Linked DNA regions of Homo sapiens: all the other regions are linked to region 1. The links are contacts of gene promoters, found by promoter capture Hi-C in blood cells and fetal thymus (Javierre and others, 2016). All regions are on one chromosome and are shown on one strand. Each heading gives the region's core, a stretch centred on a gene start or on the middle of the fragment in contact. The rest is flanking DNA. Distances are from core to core; before and after follow the strand shown.

What was found. The method cuts DNA at HindIII sites, captures the fragments that hold promoters and counts their contacts. A CHiCAGO score of 5 or more calls a contact.
Region 2: a contact is called between a fragment that was not itself captured here and the fragment with the promoter of RWDD2B in region 1, in 1 of 17 cell types (neutrophils). The highest score is 5.6, in neutrophils.
Region 3: a contact is called between a fragment that was not itself captured here and the fragment with the promoter of RWDD2B in region 1, in 6 of 17 cell types (naive CD4 T cells, non-activated CD4 T cells, total CD8 T cells and 3 more). The highest score is 9.2, in naive CD4 T cells.
Region 4: a fragment that was not itself captured here is called in contact with the fragment with the promoter of RWDD2B in region 1 in 3 of 17 cell types (naive CD4 T cells, activated CD4 T cells and non-activated CD4 T cells); the score reaches 7.0 in naive CD4 T cells.
Region 5: a contact is called between a fragment that was not itself captured here and the fragment with the promoter of RWDD2B in region 1, in 3 of 17 cell types (neutrophils, naive B cells and M0 macrophages). The highest score is 14.9, in neutrophils.
Region 6: a fragment that was not itself captured here is called in contact with the fragment with the promoter of RWDD2B in region 1 in 1 of 17 cell types (neutrophils); the score reaches 7.9 in neutrophils.
Region 7: the fragment with the promoter of BACH1-IT2 here is called in contact with the fragment with the promoter of RWDD2B in region 1 in 12 of 17 cell types (neutrophils, naive B cells, total B cells and 9 more); the score reaches 21.1 in neutrophils.

Annotation. Positions count from the first base shown.
Region 1 is chr21:29,017,974-29,020,741 of GRCh38, reverse strand. RWDD2B (RWD domain containing 2B) reads left to right here and starts at 1,393. Exons shown (of 5, transcript NM_016940.3): 1 at 1,393-1,531. The coding sequence starts at 1,465. It overlaps LOC124905005 (a long non-coding RNA gene), which reads right to left. Exons shown (of 2, transcript XR_007067836.1): 1 at 2,495-2,768; 2 at 1-1,829. RefSeq lists an enhancer at 1,303-1,552. The HindIII fragment of the contact is 4,408 bases long and covers 1-2,438 here.
Region 2 is chr21:29,492,931-29,495,698 of GRCh38, reverse strand. LOC105372770 (a long non-coding RNA gene) reads left to right here. Exons shown (of 4, transcript XR_007067840.1): 2 at 207-333; 3 at 429-525. Among named protein-coding and RNA genes, the nearest start is that of BACH1-IT3, 1.7 kb to the left of the region's middle. The HindIII fragment of the contact is 5,698 bases long and covers 1-2,768 here.
Region 3 is chr21:29,453,085-29,455,852 of GRCh38, reverse strand. All of the region lies in intron 1 of LOC107985486 (a long non-coding RNA gene), which reads right to left. Among named protein-coding and RNA genes, the nearest start is that of BACH1-IT3, 42 kb to the left of the region's middle. The HindIII fragment of the contact is 2,995 bases long and covers 1-2,768 here.
Region 4 is chr21:29,432,628-29,435,395 of GRCh38, reverse strand. It overlaps LOC107985486 (a long non-coding RNA gene), which reads right to left and starts at 1,107. Exons shown (of 2, transcript XR_001754998.2): 1 at 1,027-1,107. The HindIII fragment of the contact is 6,796 bases long and covers 1-2,768 here.
Region 5 is chr21:29,408,702-29,411,469 of GRCh38, reverse strand. No RefSeq gene overlaps it. Among named protein-coding and RNA genes, the nearest start is that of BACH1-IT2, 38 kb to the right of the region's middle. The HindIII fragment of the contact is 590 bases long and covers 1,033-1,622 here.
Region 6 is chr21:29,388,898-29,391,665 of GRCh38, reverse strand. LOC124905071 (small nucleolar RNA U13) reads left to right here and starts at 2,176; the gene lies at 2,176-2,279. The HindIII fragment of the contact is 7,052 bases long and covers 1-2,768 here.
Region 7 is chr21:29,371,124-29,373,891 of GRCh38, reverse strand. It overlaps BACH1-IT2 (BACH1 intronic transcript 2), which reads right to left and starts at 1,391. Exons shown (of 2, transcript NR_046564.2): 1 at 1,329-1,391; 2 at 1-650. The HindIII fragment of the contact is 7,280 bases long and covers 1-2,768 here.

The sequences.
Region 1 (2,768 bases), core at 144-2,643:
ACCTCAACACTATCAACATTTTGGACCAGCAAATTTGTTGTTGTCGGGGGATGTCCTGTTCATTGTAGGAAGTTGAGGAACATCCCTGTGCTCTACCTACCCCATGCCAATACCATCCTTCCAGTTGTGACAACCCAAAATGTCTTCAGACACTGCTAAATAGAGGGGAAATCCATCCTTCCCCTTCTCTTGAGGTCTGCTCCACTGTAAAATTCTCTCGACTTCGCTTTACACTTGAATTTTTTCATAATAAATGTTGGAGGAAAAAATAAATTATGACATTGAAAAACGCTCATGAAACACTATGCAGAAGACGTAGTTTATGAAGACCTACAATACATACTGTCGTATTTTTGTTTAAAAAAAAAAAGTGGAGGGGAGACCTAGCAGTGATATTTAGTATTGCTAAATGTCAATGTTTACAAATCTTATCTATGACATTTCTAAAATGAATATTATAAAGTGTATTGCATATAGTTGGATTGGGAAGAAAAACATTTCTAATTATTCTCCTGTCAGCATCTCCTTCAAACTACCCTTTTATTAACAGGGATAGATATGCATTCACACGGTTCCTCCCAGCTTGGTTAATGGGCAAGAACACCTAAGATAGCCAAGGCCACCATGCATCCAGGCTCACATCTCCCTAATTGCCCTCCTCCATGATTCAGGGACAAGGAGGATCACCATCGTGTGGGAAGATACTAGAAATGTAGAATTTGGAACCCCACCCCTACCTACGGAATCCTGATCTGCACTTCAACAGGATCCCCGAACTATTCCTAGGCGCGTTCGAATTTGAGGAACATTAACGGACCAATTCTTTGTCCCTGAAAAGTGCCCGTTATAGAGGCGGCCGCTGGGAAATGACAACGGGGTTGGCATGGAGAGGTATTAAGTAGAAAAACTCCGGCCGGGCACGGTGGCTCAGGCCTGTAATCCCAGCACTGTGGGAGGCCGAGGCCGGTGGATCACCTGAGGTCAGGAGTTCGAGACCAGCCTGGCCAACATGGTGAAACCCCATTTCTACTGAAAAATACAAAAATTATCTGGGCATGGTGGTGGGCGCCTGTAATCCCAGCTACTCGGGAGGCTGAGGCAGGAGAATCGCTTGAACCCAGGAGGCGGAGGCTGCAGTGAGCCGAGATCGCGCCACTGCACTCCAGCTTGAGAGACACAGCGAGACTCCGTCTCAAAAAAAAAAAAAAGGAAGAAAGAAAGAAGAAGAAGAGAACTCTGCGACTGAAAAGTACCTAGCAGGGACAACGCATTCCCTACGTCCTTCCAAGTGCAGACACCAACACCGGCGGACGCGGCTCCCAACAGGCGAGCCCCAGCTTCCGGTCCGCGGCCTTGGACGCGCATGCGCCGCATGCTTTTTTTTTTTTTTTCCGGTAGGTCGCCAGCTGAGGCGGTTTGTAAGTTTTGGGTCGCAGTATGCTAGAATTTTGAGGCTCCCTTCTGATGAAAATTGAGCTGTCCATGCAGCCATGGAACCCGGGTTACAGCAGTGAGGGGGCCACGGCTCAAGGTGAGTCTCGCCTCAGCTAGCGCCAGTGGTGACCGCCACGGGGGTTTCCCACGCTGCAGCGCCCAGTGCAACCCTTTGGGAACGTGCCCGGCATGGCGGCCCCGGTTCCCCTCACTGCATGCGCCCATCGGTCGGCTCGGTCCTCGGCGTTGCTTCCCGGCTTCTGCAGCCCTGCTCCAGCCGGGGACCTCGCCCCGGGGGCAATCAGGGTGCGAGGGCGGCTGCGTGCTGGGCTTTCTTCCTGAGAGCGTCTTGGCTTGGGTCGCGGGGTACCCTGCTCTGTTCTTCAAAAAAAAATCTGCAAGGAAAAGATATTATTCCACTCAGAAATCTCAAGTTTCAGTCTGCGTTCTCTTAAATATATTTTATTTTTTAAAAAAATAATAAAGGCGAGCTCTTACTATGTTACCCAGGCTGATCTTGAACTCCTGGGCTCAAGCAGTCCCCCTTCCTCTGCCTCCCAAAGTGCTGGGATTACAGGCGTGAGCAATCGCGCCCGGCCACAGTCTATTATCTTACAGCATTCGCTGAAATCTTGAATCATAAAATTATCTTGAGGGTTTTTTGGAAGGACTGAAATCTCTTAAGCGAAAATAATTTGGCAGATAAATGACCTGTGACATCACTCCCGTAGTTGTCCGTTCAAGAGTCCCTCCGTCCCGTTCTTCTTTGCTAATCCCATTTCATCTTCGATACCTCCAATTCAATAGCACCCTCTCCCAACTTTACTCACTCCCTGGGAGACTTTAAACAAATATATAGTTCCAAATAAGTGTTGACTCCCAAGATTATATATCTAGCTGAGTCTCTCGTAGACTTCAAAACTATACATCTAACTGCCTGCTAGACCTCTCTATTTAACAGGTGTCTTAGTAGGCACTTCATTACTTGTGTCTAAAACCAAGCTTCAGCTCCCCATGACCATCAACGTCTAAATAAATGGCAGATCCATACTTTCAGTACCTTAAAGCCCCGGAGTCATTCTTCCGTGTCTCATGTAATTCATCTGTAAATCCTGTTGCCTCTGTTCTCTGCATGTATCCAGAACCTGAAGCTCACCAACTTGACCACTATAATCCTATCAAAGCCACCATCATCTCTCCCTAGTTATTGCGGTGTCTATATCTGGTCACCCCACTTTTCCTTTCACTTTTCTCCATAGCAGCAAGTGTGGGGATCTTCATAAGTCAAACCTCTCTTGTAGCTCTTACATGTCAGTCGGGATAAAATTCAAAAT
Region 2 (2,768 bases), core at 85-2,584, 480 kb before region 1:
ATAACAGGAAGACTGCTCCTTAAAGCAGACCACACCCTGACGTCTCCTGGGTGGTGATGAGTGGGTTTGTATATGTGGGCTCCCTAGGAATTCTCAGTGTCCATATACAGTCCACAGTCATCATATTGATATAATTAGGTGCCCTATGTGAGATTACTCTTTTCGTCTTTAGCAACAGCAATTTTAGCATCTTTTTATGTGGACAGGGACAAAACATCACCTTGGGTCAGATCTCAAGAAGGCCCTTTGGGTTTCACAGATGAATGACAGGCAACCCCAGAGCACATCATTTGCCTCTCAGTCTGCCAAGAGAGACCTCTAGCTATGCTTGATGTATGTAAAATATATTCTTTTATGTTAATTACGCTTTCACATATAACACAGTGTTATTTAAAAGATGTGTAGTTTACATGTATTGATATTTCTAGACAGGTATAGAAAAGAGGAGATGGAATTTGTGATACACTATGAAATGGATCACCAAGGGAAAATTTTCACAAATAGAATGGATTGCGGTTCCTGAAGGTAGTAATTCTTGCCTACTTGCTTCATGGGCTTGTTAAGAGAATGAAAATCAAAATGAGATCAGACAAATGAAAACACGATCAAGATTTCAGAAATTGAAAATAACACTATCATTATTATTTTTAATTAAAGTCCTTTATATGGGAATTACATACTTGAGCTGCAAACTCGGTGACCTGGCCCTCAGGTGCACAGAAAAGTTCTGATTAAAATTTTAATAACCATCTTATTACAGGTAGAAGGTTTCTCAACAGTGAAATAACAAACGGCCATGGTAGTTGGATTCTACTATTCCCAGGCTTCCCCATTCTAGGCCCTGTTCCCCCAAAACACTTTCAACACAAACACATTCACACACACACACACCCATACACTTCACAGGTGTCCAGGGGCATCCTTCTGTCTTATGAGAGCAGCCCTCAAGATAATGCCTTGGTGAGTTTAGAATATTTTTGTTTGTTTGTTTGTTTGGTTTGGTTTGGTTTTTTGAGACAGAGCTTCTCTCTTGTTGCCCAGGCTGGGGTGCAATGGCGCGATCACAGCTCATTGCAACCTCCGCCTCCTGGGTTCAAGTGATTCTCCTGCCTCAGCCTCCCAAGTAGCTGAGATTACAGGCACCCACCACCATGCCCACCTAATTTTTTTGTATTTTAGTAGAGACGGGGTTTCACCATGTTGGTCAGGCTGGTCTCAAACTCCTGACCTCAGGTAATCCACCCGCCTCAGCCTCCCAAAGGAGTTTAGAATCTTTACAACAAGAAAAGAGAAACCTTTTTGTCTTCTTCTTAGAATCTCTTTGAATAAATTTTTGAAAGTATTCTAGTATTCTTTAATCTGTTTCTCAAACTAGCACAGATCATCCTATTTTACCTTTTCTTTCAATTGATTTCTTTAAAAAAAAAGCCCCCCCCCACAAAAATATTCATGATTGATGAAAAAAGGCACCATGATACGGTTGTTGTGCATGGACCTGCCTGTCAGCAATGACCACAGCTCACCTGAGAGTAAGATTACAAAATCACAAACAGAAAATGACTTTTATAATCAGCCTCCAAAGCTAATGCCCAATATATGGTACTTTCTGCTAAAGCTCCTGGAAATCTTCCCACATGCTCTACATCTGCATTTGCAGACCCTCTACCAGGAGCTAAATTTATCCTCTGTTTAGTGTTTTATTGGATTTAAAAGAGCTAAACAGAGAGTTTTAAATCTAGGGGGGATATTTGATGAAATAAAAACTGGTGAAAACAAGGACAACTGGTGAAAAATGGACAAGAGGGTTTTACAGATCCTCCATCTTCCTAAATGTCCATCCCTTCCAGACTTCTCCCCTCAATTCTTGTGCACCTACTCTGAACTCAACATGTGTCAGATACTGAGGGCATATGGAAATATGATAAACCAGATTTCCATACTTTAGGGAACTTAGAATCTATTTGAAGAAGTAAGACTAGCACAGGAACAATTAGTTCTCAAAATATATCAGTTAGATGAAGAATTTGGTGAATTTTAAGTGCCTTAAAATATCACCAAAAGGAAGCTCAGTGTGAACTCCCAGAGTAATCTGGCAAAGTACAAGATGAAGTGAGGGACATCAGATGAGTCTTGAAAATTGGGAAGCAGCCCGGGCACAGTGGCTCAGGCCTGTAATCCCAGCACTCTGGGAGGCCGAGGCGGACGGATCACCTGAGGTCAGGAGTTCGAGACCAGCCTGGCCAACATGGAGAAACCCTGTCTTTACTAAAAATACAGAAATTAGCTGGGCGTGGTGGTGGTAGCCTGTAATTCCAGCTACACGGGAGGCTGAGGCAGGAAGAATTTCTTGAACCCAGAAGGCAGAGGTTGCAGTGAGCCAAGATTGTGCCACTGCACTCCAGCCAGGAGTCTAATTATTAGGAGTCTAATTATTAGGCCATTGCAAGTCATCTGGGAGAGAAGCAGTGGTAGCATGGAGTAAGATTGTGGCAGTGGGAACAAAAACAAGTGGATGTATGGCAGAGCTGTCTAGAAGGCAAAGCCAACAACAGTGGTGTTTGGCTGCAAGAGAAAGAGAGGGAATGGTCAAGGGTGACAACCCAGATGATTGACAAGTGGGAGGATGGTGATTACCAATCCCTGAAACAAGAGCGAGGGCAACAGAGTGAGGCTCTGTCTAAATAAATAAATAAATAAAGTACTGTTATAACTGTAAGTTTATTTCAAATTCTAAGGTGATAACTATTTTATTTCCATTTTAAATTTCA
Region 3 (2,768 bases), core at 88-2,587, 440 kb before region 1:
AAATATGCATCAACAGAATGTGAACTGCTATTTTCTCCACATGGGTCTTAAGCACTATACAAAGCATTGGCAGATCAGTATTACAGAAAAGTGGACTTGGTTATTGTCACACTGTCTCTGTCACATCAAAGCTATCTCTCTTTTGCAAGAACCAGTTTTTTTCTGTACTGCACTTTTTCCCCGGCCACTACATGGAATGCTCTGAAGCACTGATCAATTAGGGAAATTGTTTTAATGAGGGAGGTTGATTTTGTCATGTATGCGTTATCTTTCTCTTTTCTTGACCACATTATCCTCTGGGAATCAGAATGCTAAGTTGTTATTGGGAGTCAATAACTGGCTTGAAATTACTCTGAGAAGTTCACCCCTACCAAACTGCTTCATGGCAAATTATTGCTTACCACCTAGCATCTGATACATATATACCAGAGGGCATGCACACATGCATGTATAGGATGGCAATTTGCTGTACTTTAAATTTATTCCTTTCTTCTCACCTTTCTCACATGCCATCAAATCCCCCATTTCCTAGATGGAATGCATCTTTCTAGATGAAAAGAAAAAACTCACTGATGAAATGAGTACTAATTCATTTGCCTCACTGGTCGAAGAAGCCAATTAATATATGAGAAACATCAGCTAGCTTAAAGAAACGTGGAGTGCAGATAAAGACTAAAGAACCACGGAGTCAACCAAGTAAAGTGCCAACTCAAAATGATAGCAAAGAACTAGATATCTAGTATGTGTTCAATAGATGGCTAAGGGTGAGTTTCCTGATATTCTAATTTACTCAGGAGCAATCTGAATTTTCTAAGAGGATATTTATAATAAATTCCTACTGGTAGACTTTAGGCTATTATGTAAGACAGTAAGAGGTTTTTTTTTTTTTTATTTTTGTGCCCATTAAATTGCATCATGTAGTTGATCATTTAACTTTGTCTAAATCCAAGTTTGACCTGTTCGTCTATGTTCCACATAATTGAAAAAAGTACTGGGAGTAAATGAGGGGGATTCTCAGATGTGCTTACTGAGTTATGTTGGTCTGGTAGATGCTGGAATGGAGAGTGAAAGTCTTCAACTTTTTTTGTCATTCTATCGAACCGACAGGATGGAGACAAGAAGTAATACTCACTTTGCAATTAATCACAATCTCATCAGGAAGACTCACCCCCAACCGGTTCATTAAAGGCAAATAGACTTCTTCCAAAGCCTTAGTTTTCCTTTCCATTATCAATCCGGGGAAGAATAAATGAGATTAAAAATGTAAAGCAAAAAGGAAGAACTGAATAAATCAGCCAAAAAATAATAGGATCTTTGGGAGAAAATAGTTTTTTACAAAAACGTTCAGAAAGAGTATAAAATAAATATCTGAGTGTAGAGATCTAAGTACATATACCCACACTGACATTAACACACATGTTCAGCAAACATCAATATTGATTATGCCTCTGGAAACTATTGACTGGTGGGAAAATCAATATATATCTTGATGTTGACCACAACAAAATCAATAATTGCTTCATAATTTACCAAGACTCATGGGATTTAATGAACCAGATAGCTATGAAGTAAAGCAAAATGATTGTACTTTCTCCCCAGCATACTGGATAAAGGATATAATACCAGCATTAGACATTGGTAGCCATACCTTGTGTCACCCCCCTAAACCCCATCTTTATTGAATGAAGCAAGTGAAACATCACCTTTCCCAGAATTGTGGATGACAACTCTGAAATTTGAGCAAGGAGAGAAGAGTAAGAGAAAGAAACCTCAGGGAAGACAACACTCACAAGAAAACTGATTCAGTGTCACAGATGAATGTGGGCATTTGTGCCTGTGAATTAAACAGCAGTCGCCTGCTGATAAATATCATTTATCCACTTTGTTAGGCCCCAGTATTGCATTATATTGATTGTACGTTCAGCCTTTTCTAGTTTTTCACTTATTTCCAGAGATTAATAAATGCAGGTTATTCAAATGCCATGACTATCTAAAATCCAATCCAAAGGGACTTTAGTGGCAGATTTAGAAAAAAAAAAATGCTGGTACTCTTCCTGTCCTTCTTTAGGATCCCCTCAATATTTGCATCTACTTAAGAAAAGCAGAAGTAAAAAGATGGCCAACACTCCGCAGTGCAGACACAATGATTCATCTGCATATTAGGAGCTGGGCCAATACGACCAGTCATTAAAATCTTTCAGTTTAAGTCCAAAACAGAGAAGCTCTATACACTGAACTGTAGGGATGTGTGTATGAATTGCCTGATAAATATGCAGAATGATGTTTCCCAGTGCTCCTAAATGATATTAATAAGTCGAGCTCTGCAAGGAAAAACAGAGGTCAAAGCAACCAACAGAGTAAGCCAAAAATGGGTTCCCATTAGAATAAATTTCTAATAATGAATTTCTCTAGAAAACTGCCAGACTACCTTTATCTAAAACTATAGAAAAAGATCTGGTTCCCATTTTGTAGGGTCTACACAGGGAAATAATAAGTGAACAAATGTGGGCTGAAAGCATAATGGCTAATAATATTTCCCAGAAGAGAAGAAAGAGGTGAGCTGTGTCTTTACAGACATTGCCAATAGGTAAGAGAGGGCACAGAAACTCAAAGAAGCCTTAGATTTACTGAATGTAAGAGAAGGAAGAGGAGAAAAGAGATGTAGATACAAGATTAAAGATTATAAATAAAATTACCATAAGTGACCCCAATTTACCAATCATTTGAAGTGGTTCTAAGAGCAAGATTGTTTCATATTGCCTAAGTTT
Region 4 (2,768 bases), core at 1-2,500, 410 kb before region 1:
GAACCAAGGATTGGAACTAGGAACTGAGGCAGGAAATAGGGTCTGGAGGCAGGGAACCTAAGGACTTCCTAGAACTAAATTAAATGGAAAAACCCCAACCCAGCCTTCTAAGTCCAAGTAAATAACTTTGTAACTCTACTTCAGCTATGACAGGAAACATCCTCTTCTTTGCATAGGGTGTACACATCCACTTTGCATAGGGTGTACACATCCACTTTGCATAGGGTGTACACATCCACTTTGCATAGGGTGTACACCAAGTAAATAACTTTGTAACTTCACTTTAGCCTCTTCATCTGCATAGGATGGTACACTAAGTAACCAATGGAAACCTCTAGAGAGAATTTAAACTCCAGAAAATTCTGTAACCAGGCCCTTGAGCCGTATGCTCGGCCCACTCCTACCTTGTGGAGTATGTTTCTGATTTCAATAAATCTCTGCTTTAGTTGCTTCATTCTTTCTTTCTTTGTACGTTTTGTCCAATTTATGTTCAAGACACCGAGAACCTGGACACCCTCCACCGGTAGCAGAACCAGCAAATAAAATTGGCATCCCCAAGGATCAAGGCTGAGAGAGGAAATAATAACCTAAAAATTAATCCAAGGATGATCACATCATAAAGGCCACTTCGCCTTTGAACATGCCATTTAGACTAAGGTCAATTTAAACATTAGCCTAAAGGTTAGTAAAGGGGTGCTAGAACAATAAAAAACAGGAAGACAAGACCAGCACAGTCCAGGGACAACAGGACCAGACCTACTGGACCTTAGGCTGACTTCTAAGCATCCCCAGCAAGTGCCCAACATAGACAGAACTAGAGGGAAAAAAAAGAAAACACTAACAAAAGAAGTAGGGAACAGCCATGGAAGGAATCTAGAAAGGACGCTACCAGAATGTATATGTAGCCTTGTTTACAATTCAGTGAATTCTAGAGACAATCGCTGTATTAGTCTGTTTCCACACTGCTGATAAAGACATACCCGAGACTGGTTAATTTATAAAGAAAAAGAGGTTTAAGGGACTCACAGTTCCATGCAGCTGGGGAGGCCTCACAATCATAGTGGAACGTGAAACGCACATCTTTCATGGTGGCAGACGAGAGAGAATGAAAACCAAGTGAAAGGGATTTCCCCTTATAAAACATTCAGATCTCGTGAGACTTATTCACTACTTCAAGAACAGCATGGGGGAAATCACCCCTATGATTCAATTAACTCTGATTAGGTTCCTCCCACAACACGTGGGAATTATGGGAGCTACAATTCAAGGTGAGATTTGGATGGGGACACAGCCAAACCATATCAATTACTTGAGTATATTTTGAGATTCATTCTCTGAGATCTGTTACTTTCGTCAATCTATGTGTTTTCCCATAGTTCTTAGCAATATAAATAAATAACAATGAAAGAGAGTTGTTAGGCATGCCTCAAATACAGCAGGGAAGGAGGAAGCTAAGAAAAATATATATATAAGAGGAATGTGAGGAGGTAGCCGGGCAGAGGAATGTAAACAACTGCAATTGGAAAAGAAACAAGCAGGAGCAAATATCCGAGGGATTGGCAAACTGGTTCTCTGGCAGATTAGCCTGCAGGAAAGTTCCAAGGCCCTCATCATTTCTCTGAAGTCTGGGATCAGTATCTTTCAGAGGAATGGTTTTTCTTAGAAAATGCACACTCCCACATCAGGCATCTCATTAACTTGTGGATTTGCTACAGATTATTTCTCTGCTCTTACGGCAATTTTTAAGCCTCTGAACTTTATCTTATTGTTAGTCATGATTTGATGTGGAATTATAAGCCCCATTAAAATGATTTAAATCTCTTAGAAAAGACCAAAAGCTGCAGTTCTGTCTGTGATAAGACCACTTGAAGATAACAACCATAATTGTCCAGAGTAACTAAACAATCCCTCGCTTGTGGATAAATAAGTCTTGGTATAATCGATCTTTCAGGGATGCTAATCATTCTGTCAGAATCATTGTTGGTTTTGTATTTCCCCAGCAATGATGAACCATCTAACTTAGATCGTATTTCCCATAGATGTCATATCATCTATGGGATATAGATGGAAGATCATAAAACCTTAGTGCTAAAAGATGATCTAATTTAACCTGTCAATTGTATAACTAACCCAACACTCAGAAGAGAAATTAAGTGACTTATCCAAGATCATACAGTTCAGTAGAATTCCATTGACCTAGGGCATCAATTAAATGCTTAACACTTGGTTAATTCAAAAAGTGATAAAATTCAGAGATGCCATATGTTGAACTACATGCATTCTATTTTTCTATTCCTGCATTAGTGTAATGCCTCTTTGTAATGACCAAAATAACAAGTTTATTGAGGCACAGATAGGTAGTTGCATGTTTATGGATTTACAGTGTAACAGAAAGGACCCAGAGCTATTAAAAATCCCTAGACATGTGCCCCAATGCCTGGAAGCCCACAAGGAGCTATTCATTTCTGTTGATTTTTCATACTTCTGAGTGATACATATTAAAAACCCTCAAGATTGTCTGCTACTGGGAAACTCACATAACTTTCTTGAGCATTGGTTTTAATATTATTTTTTACAATATTGGAAAATAGACCTTTAAGCTACCCCCAAGTTATAAATGCAATGGGAATGATGCTCAGATAGGCAAAAATAACAACAATGACTATTCATCCATTCTAGGATGCCCATCAAAGGCCATCACAAGCAGCCAAACAATCAGTTCTCTTTTTCAGGAAATGGAGCAAGGTATCTGCATCCCATCCTTCTTC
Region 5 (2,768 bases), core at 78-2,577, 390 kb before region 1:
CAAACCATCCTCCTCCTCATTCAACCATAAACAGCCCATATTGGCTTCTGTGTATGAGAAATTGAAGGCTCTCCCTTGTCCCAGCTTCCTTAAAGAGTTCCTTAAAGAGTTCATGTTACCACTAAACAGAGTCCCCCTGTTCTTCTAACTGTCATTTCTCACGTTATGGGATGTACATCAGGGCCTCATCATTATTCTCTTTCATATACCTGGACCTTATTACATAGGAGCTCAAAGTCTAGCTCTTTACATTTCTCTTAATCTTCTTTGATACTAAGTGAGGCAACAACAACAACAAAAAGATAGTATAGGCCATTTTATTTTACTTTATTGAGACAGGGTCTTGTTCTGTTGCCCAGGCTGGGGCAGTGGCTTGATCAAGGTTCAATGAAGCCTCAAATTCCTGGGCTCAAGAGATCCTCCAGCCTCAGCCTCCTGAGTAGCTTGGATGACAGGTGTGTGACACCACATATGACTAATTTATATATATATATATATATATATATATATATATATATATATATATATACACACATACAGACAGTGGTCTCCCTATATTGCCTAGATTGGTCTCAAACTCCTGGGCTCAAGTGATTCTCCCCACTCATCCTCCCAAAGTGCTGAGACTACAGGCATGAGCCACCACGTCTGGCCCATGTAGGTCTTTTTAAATAGCCCTGAGCTTCTCAAGCCCCTACACCCCTCCCAAGTAGGAGAAAGGAAAACCTAAATGATTAAATTTGATCTCCTGAGGCCACATGAAAACGGACCCTCGAAAATTCACTGTACTTAGGAAACTCATGGACAGGTTATCAAACCTCAAGTAGCAAAGTCCCTGTAGAGTTTCCTTGGACTTCTACATTTTCTTGCAACAAATAATACATTTAAAGGTCAATGGATCTCATTCTTTATCAACCAAGAAAATATGTTTGCAGAATCTAAAATCTCATCTAGAGTTAAGATCAACATTTTTTTTTCTTCTGGTCCTTTCATTTATTTCTTTAAAATTGTCTTATCATTACTATGTAAGCTTGTACCTGAATTACAGCTTTTAATAAAGCAATGACACTTTTATTTCTCAGATGCCTGATGACCATATTAACCTCTCCTCATTTGAGTTATTAATTGCACGTTCTGTCCAATCCCTTTGGTGTGGCTTCCAAGGAGACAGTCAGAAGGCTTCTCAGGAAGGGAAGGACATGTTTATTGTTGGCCCTGTGGGAGTGTTTGCATAATTACTGGAATGATTAAAGAGGTCTTTTCTAAAACAGACAAGCATACTAAGTTTTAATATGTTTCATGACAATGCATAAGACAAGAGTGCATGTTGTACCTGATATAGGACCCTGCAGGTCGCCAAAATAAATAAATACGTGTAGAGGTGCTGGAATGAATTCAGTCATGGATATAAACAGAAATTTCAAGGGGAAATGAGCTTTGATTCTTGATGAGAGAATTGTTTGTGATCAGAATGAGGACAGCTGTACAGCAAAGGTGACAAAGAGCCTGGGGACATGAAGTCTTAAATAGTTTGCTCTAATCCCATGTTGTAAAGATGGCTTAATGTGAGGGAGGGGGTAGCAGGAAGAGTTTTGATGAATCCTGAGACTGGAGTTAAAGCTTTTCTAATTTGGCTCACTGGTATTTAATCTTATAACTGTGCATCCTTAATCAAAACTCAGAGGGACTCTTTAATCTTGTGTGTATAAAATGAAAGATGATTAGAGTCCCCTGACCTGCCTGTGAGTTCCAGCTGTTTCCTTCTTTTCTATTTCCTAGGCTCTTCATATCTCCCACTAGCTGGAGTTACATTAATAGAAAAAACAGCATCCCGAAATTGTAGGAGAATAAATATGAAGAACACATTCATTCATTCATTTTTTTCTTTTGGTGGTTAATGGCATCTATTATGTGGAAGGCATTGTTTTACATATTAATATACAGCATGAACAAGAACGACATATCTATTTGTACAGACTGCATTTTAGAATCTAACTAGGACTTTTTCACCATTTCTTGGCTAAGTAAGCAAATGCAAGTGATTCAGGAAAATAAATATGATTTTAAGGAGTAAATAATTATGTAGAAAAATTCTTCTGTTTCAGATGACTGCAAGGTGCAAATTGTTTACTGAAGAAATTCATCATATAGCTGGTCAAGTGTTTGGATTCTGTTAGAAGATTGAGAACAAGGTGATAAAATGCATCATTCCAGCATCACAGGATTTTGATGACCAGACAAAGGCTTTGAATTGTGCCTGATGTATTTTTTTAATGCACAGTAAATAGGACTCCAGGGCCAACTCCCCCGACCCACACCACATCCTAAGCAAGACCTTTATAGAGAACTGTCCCTGGGGGAAACCTTTTCCCTTGATCGAAATCCTAGCATATCCAGGTAATACTTCACTACTATTCCCACTCTTTTTTTTTTTTTTTTTTTTTTTTTTGAGACAGTCTCACTCTGTCACCCAGGCTGGAGCGCAATGGCATTATCTCGGCTCACTGCAACCTCTGCCTCCCAGGGTCTGAGCAATTCTCCTACCTCAGCCTCTGGAGTATCTGGGATTACAAGTATGTACCACCATGCCCAGCTAAGTTTTGTATTTTTACTAGAGATGTAGTTTCACCATGTTGGCCACACTGGTCTTGAACTCCTGACCTCAAGTGATCAGCCCACCTTGGTCTCCCAAAATGCTGGGATTGCAGGTGTGAGCCACTGCACCCAGCCTTATTGCCACTTTAAAAAGCTTTTTATTTTTAAGAATA
Region 6 (2,768 bases), core at 71-2,570, 370 kb before region 1:
GAGCTAGAAGCCATTATCCTCAGCAAACTAACACAGGAACAGAAAACCAAACACTCCATGTTCTCACTTATAAGTGGGAGCTGAACAATGAGAACACATGGGCACAAGGAGGGGAACAACACACATTGGGGCCTGTTTGGGGAGTGGGGGAGGGGGAGGGAGAGCATCAAGATAAATAGCTAAGGCGTGAGGGGCTTAGTATCTAGATGACGGGTTGATAGGTGCAGCAAACCACCATAGCACATGTATACCTATGTAACAAACCTGAATGTTCTGCACGCGTATCCTGGAACTTAAAATAAAATTAAATTAAAATATTTAAAAGAGAGCATGGGGCCTTGCAAACAATATGAGACTAAGGAAAAAGGGAACAACAACTATAGACTCAGAGACAGAACCAATCTCTGAAAATTATCTACTGAAAGAACCAGAATTAAGCTGTAGGAAACTAGGTGCTTTCAACGGGCCACAAGACAGCCTGGCTTCTTCAAGGAGTCACAAAAAGTGAATAGGTTGACATGAACTCAAGAAGAGATGAAAAGATGAAATTAAATTAAATCTCAAGCTGAGATTTTAAAATCATAATAATAACACACTACTTACTAAAAGGAGGCAGATGATGTGCGCAGGAAGGGCAGAGGAGAGAGACTGAAAGAATAATAGCAGGGAAAAAGAGCACATGAAAAGCAGATGTCACCATGACAAATCAAAGGCATCTGGTGAAGGGCAAATTTCAGAACCTTTTAAAAGAAAAGGGAAAAACAAAGATACAAGTGACGAGCAAGATGATGATCTTGAAGGAGAGTTTGGAAAGCCAACTAAATAATTTAGTGTCTTTCTTAGGAGAATACCAAGATAATTACAAGCAAAGCAATAACCAAAATCATCAACAAAGAAAATGTATTTGAGCTGAAAAAGCCTTAACTGTGCAAGCAAAAAGACTCACTCCCCATGATCCACAAAATAAATAGATGAATATATAAATTACACATAAAGCATTCTGAAACTATTTTATAACTACAAAACAGAAAGACATCTTGTAAACATTCACTTGGAAAAAACCTGGTCACTAAGAAAAAACGAAGTCAAGATGATCTTATACTTCCATATAGCATTAAGTTTCAAACATACACACACAGGAAATGTTTACAGAGTTTTAAGGAAAACAATGTGGAACGTAAGAATTTTCAATTCAGACAACAGGAAAAATATTTTTAAACACCTAAGATCTTATATACGGGCTTATAATAATACCTTTCTTGGGAAAAAAAAAATCCTAAAAATGTCTTTAAGAAAAGAAAGAAAGAGGCCAGGTGCCGTAGGTCATGCCTGTAATCCCAACACTTTGGGAGACCGAGGCAGGCAGATCATTTAAGGGCAGGAATTTGAGACCAGTCTGGCCAACATGGTGAAATCCCCTCTACTAAAAATACAAAAATTAGCTTGGCGTGGTGGTGCACGCCTGTAATCCCAGCTATTCCAAAGGCTGAAGCCTGAGAATTGCTTGAACCGGGAGGTGGAGGTTGCAGTGAGCCCAGACTGCGCCACTGCACTCCAGCCTGAGTAACAGAGTAAAACCCTGTCTCAAATTAAAAAAAAAAGAGAGATGGAAAGAAAAATTAAGATCACAAGCCTGAGAGCATTGTATTAGAAAATAAATAGTATCAAGAACTGAAATTATTACTGTGGTGAATTTAATCTAAATAAGCATTAATACAAACACAAATACAAATGATACAAAGTAAACTTAAAAAGAAAAAATACATGAAATTCTTATAAATAATGTAAGAGTAATTACATGGGTTGTATTAGCAAAGTCTAGCATGGTAGAAGACAAATATAAAAGTGCAATAAATTTATCATGCTATTTCAAATGAGGACAAATGATCAAATTCCTTGATAACTAAAGAAAAATGTGTTAAAGAATGTATCTTTAAAATTTAAAGTCAATTACTAGAAGACTCTGAGGAGGATATGTAACTTCCACATCATGAGAAACTGAAACAAACAAAATATGGCTCAAAATCAGAAAATATAAGACAATAAAAACTGCGAAGTAGAGTAAAAATACAAACTATTAAATAACATGATATTGAAATAGCTAAGATAAACTAAATTAATAGTGGCTTTAAAACATGTGGTTTTGATTTCTTATTTTAAAAAATCCAGAATTAGACCATTTTGTGGTTCGTAAGTGTGATGATTGGGTTTGCATGCTCATGAGTGAGACGTGCCTCCCTCAAACCTTGTTACATCATTAGCACATTAAATATCTGACATAAAAAAGTGGGGGAAAGTCAGAAGCAGGCAGTCTGGGCGGACATAGAAGTTCCACAGTCACTGGGGACCCCAGATATGCTGAGCTTCCTGCATTGCTATACTAGTGTGTGTGGTCCTTTGCCAATATGGATTCTCCAGCTAAAAATATGATGTCTGGAATTTACCCTGCAGAAAGGAAAAAGGAGAAAGATGCATAATACCTACCCTCCAAGTATACTTTCTGGAAGTTATACCTATGACTTCAGCCTTCATCCATTATTTGTAACTCAGTCATATGCCAAACATTCCACAAAAGAGCATGGAAAATTAATAACGACCATTCAGGAGGGCCTCTGGTCTTTGCGCAGCTAAAAATTGAGGATTCCCATCTTTATTCAAATAATTTTAGCAGATCAAATTAGGGAGAAAAAGTGTGTAAAGAGCAATGTTCTTTGGAAAAACCAATTAATTTTCAACCATGAAAAAATGAAAACAGGTAAGTGCTAGAA
Region 7 (2,768 bases), core at 142-2,641, 350 kb before region 1:
ACTATCCTCAATGCCTTTCTAATTCTACCCATTGTACATGGATTGGACTCCTCAATGCCAACTCCATTCATGAAATACTTTCCAAGCCCTTTCATACCCAGCATGTACAAATTGTCCCCAGCACCTTCTTAACAAGTATGTCTGAATAACAGAAAACTACAATAATAATGCATGTCAGAATTATATGATGTAAAGATGTGTCTGTCACTGCTACCAGCTCTATCTATACCTCTTTCTCTGTAATCCTTATAACCATCTGACACATTAGGTCACATAGCTATTTAGCGGTGGACTTGAGCTTCGAATCCAGGTGTTCTTGGGAAACTTGCAGATCATAGAGAAGCATGAACACAAAGAATAAGTGTGGCCTTCCAGTGGTGGGGGCAGGGTGTCATGAGACACAGAGCAGTGGTAGGTCTTATGCAGAGCCTCTTTAGGGTTTTACACCACTGGTAGAAGAATCTGTCTCTAGACCGAAGAGTTCAAACCGAGAGACTTCTTGCTTTCTCACAAAGACAGGCTTCTGGCCATTTAGCTGCTGGGCTTTTCATCAGCCTTGAGGAATGAGAGACCTTTGTGGAGCTCTTGTTTCTAGGCGTGAGAGCAGGGGAGAGGCTGAAAAGCATCTGACATTCCTGGCGTCCCATTCTCTAGACAAGAGGGGACACTCATAAGGGCCTAAATACCTGTCCAAAGGCTTCAGTCACAATCCCTACTCTGTAAGGAAAATCTTGGCATCATTTCATCCCATACAACTAAGAAGAAAGATATATATCATGATAGCATATGGATGTGTTAACCATCTTCCCCCATTTTCACGTTTTAAGAATTTTAGGGCCGTGCATGGTGGCTCACGCCTGTAATCCCAGCACTTTGGGAGGCTAAGGCTGGCAGATCACAAGGTCAGGAGATCGAAACCATCCTGGCCAACATGGTGAAACCCCCGTCTCTACTAAAATACAAAAAATGAGCCAGGCGAGGTGGTGTGCGCTTGTAGTCCCAGCTACTCGGGAGGCTGAGACAAGGGAATTGCTTGAACCCAGGAGGCAAAGGTTGCAGTGAGCCAAGATCATGCCACTGCACTCCAGCCTGGCGACAGAGCAAGACTCTGTCTCCAAAAAAAAAAAAAAAAATTTTAGGTCTGGGGTGAGTTGGAGTATTGCTGAGGAGAACCTTTCTCAAGGGCAGGGCTCTCGGAGATCATGTTCTCATGGGTCCCCGGGACCGGTCCTCAGGCTCGCTAGTTTAAGGTGAGTGGAGTGGTCTCTAGGAGCAGAGCATGATAACAACGCTAGGTCACTCATTTACAACGGACTGTAATAAACTACCTTTTTCCTTCCACCAGGGGGCACCATTCACATAGACTTCAACAGCAGTGGCATCAACAGGCCTACAAAGTGGTGGTGGTAAAAAACACACTTGAGACCATCATATGTATCTGAAATCAGATACGATACCTGAAAAACATAAATCAAATTAATGCTCATATGGTTGCTTGCTGTCCAAGGAATTCAAAGCAAAGGTGGAAACTGACCCTTACATCACTTCTTCCTTCTAGATGAATAGCATCAGCTACATTTTCTTTCCCATTATGTAATGTTTCTATTCTGACCACCCACCTGTGATGGACATAGTCTTTTTAGATGTGTTAGTTTTAATATTAGTCAAGACTTAGTCTCAACCGTTCTCTATTAAGTGACTTTGCAGATATCTGATGTCATCTCCATTAATGCAGATTTTCATGTCAGATTCAGCTCTGAGTTCACCTTAATGCGGTGGTGGTTCCCATAGTGTAGTGCCCAGGCCCCCGCATCAACATCACTTGGGAACTTGTTAGAAAGGCAAGTTCCTGGTTCCCAACTCAGACCTACCTACCAAGTCAGAAATCTAAGTGTGGGGCCTGCAATCTGTGTTTTTACAAGCCTAACAGGGGATACTAATGCATGCTAAAGTTTGAGAACCACTGACTTAATATACAGTTTCCAACCCGGATGACACTAGAAACAACTACGGGACTTTACAAAAATATGGGTGTCCTGGCTTCCCCCAGAGCCACTAGGGTAGTGGAAACAAATGTCACTATCAAATGGATCTGGGTTTGAATTCTGGTTTTGTCACTCACCAGCTATGTGCCTTGTGGAGGCTCCATCTTCTCATCTGTAAAGTAAAAGTCATCGGACCTGCCTTGTAGGAAGGTGTAGGAGGGGAAGGTTCAGCAAATGCCTCATAGAGAGATTGACTCATAGTACATCTTCTTCCTTGGCCTCCACCGCAACTAGAATCTTATTCACCCGGCCTGTGAGGGTACAGTTCTCACCTTGCCCCAGAATCACCAGGTGAGAATGATTTGCTAGACCCGCTTTCTGAAGTTTCACAAATGGACAAACATTTTCACAGCTGTTACTGGGATTTTGCCATAAATCAGCAGGAACACACCCGAGATCTGACAAAGCTATTTCAAACTCTAGATCAATGAGGAGGGAAGTTGCTATGAAGCCGGGTTTGCCAACTGAGAGCATTGTAATTGTTCGAGTTGCTCTTGGGATCTAGCTCAGATTCCTGCTGACACCAGAGAAGTGAAGAATGAAAATAGTTGCCTAGAAAATCAGAAGCAGCTCCCCAAGTTACCTGCCACATACAGGTTTGTTTTTCCTTAATTATCTAGGTAATTGCTTTGCTTCCTCTACCTGCCTTTACCAAGAGATGCCTGGCCAGAAGAGCGAGGAATTAAAGTACCTGTGGAGGCTGCCCACCGAGTGAAGCTGCAG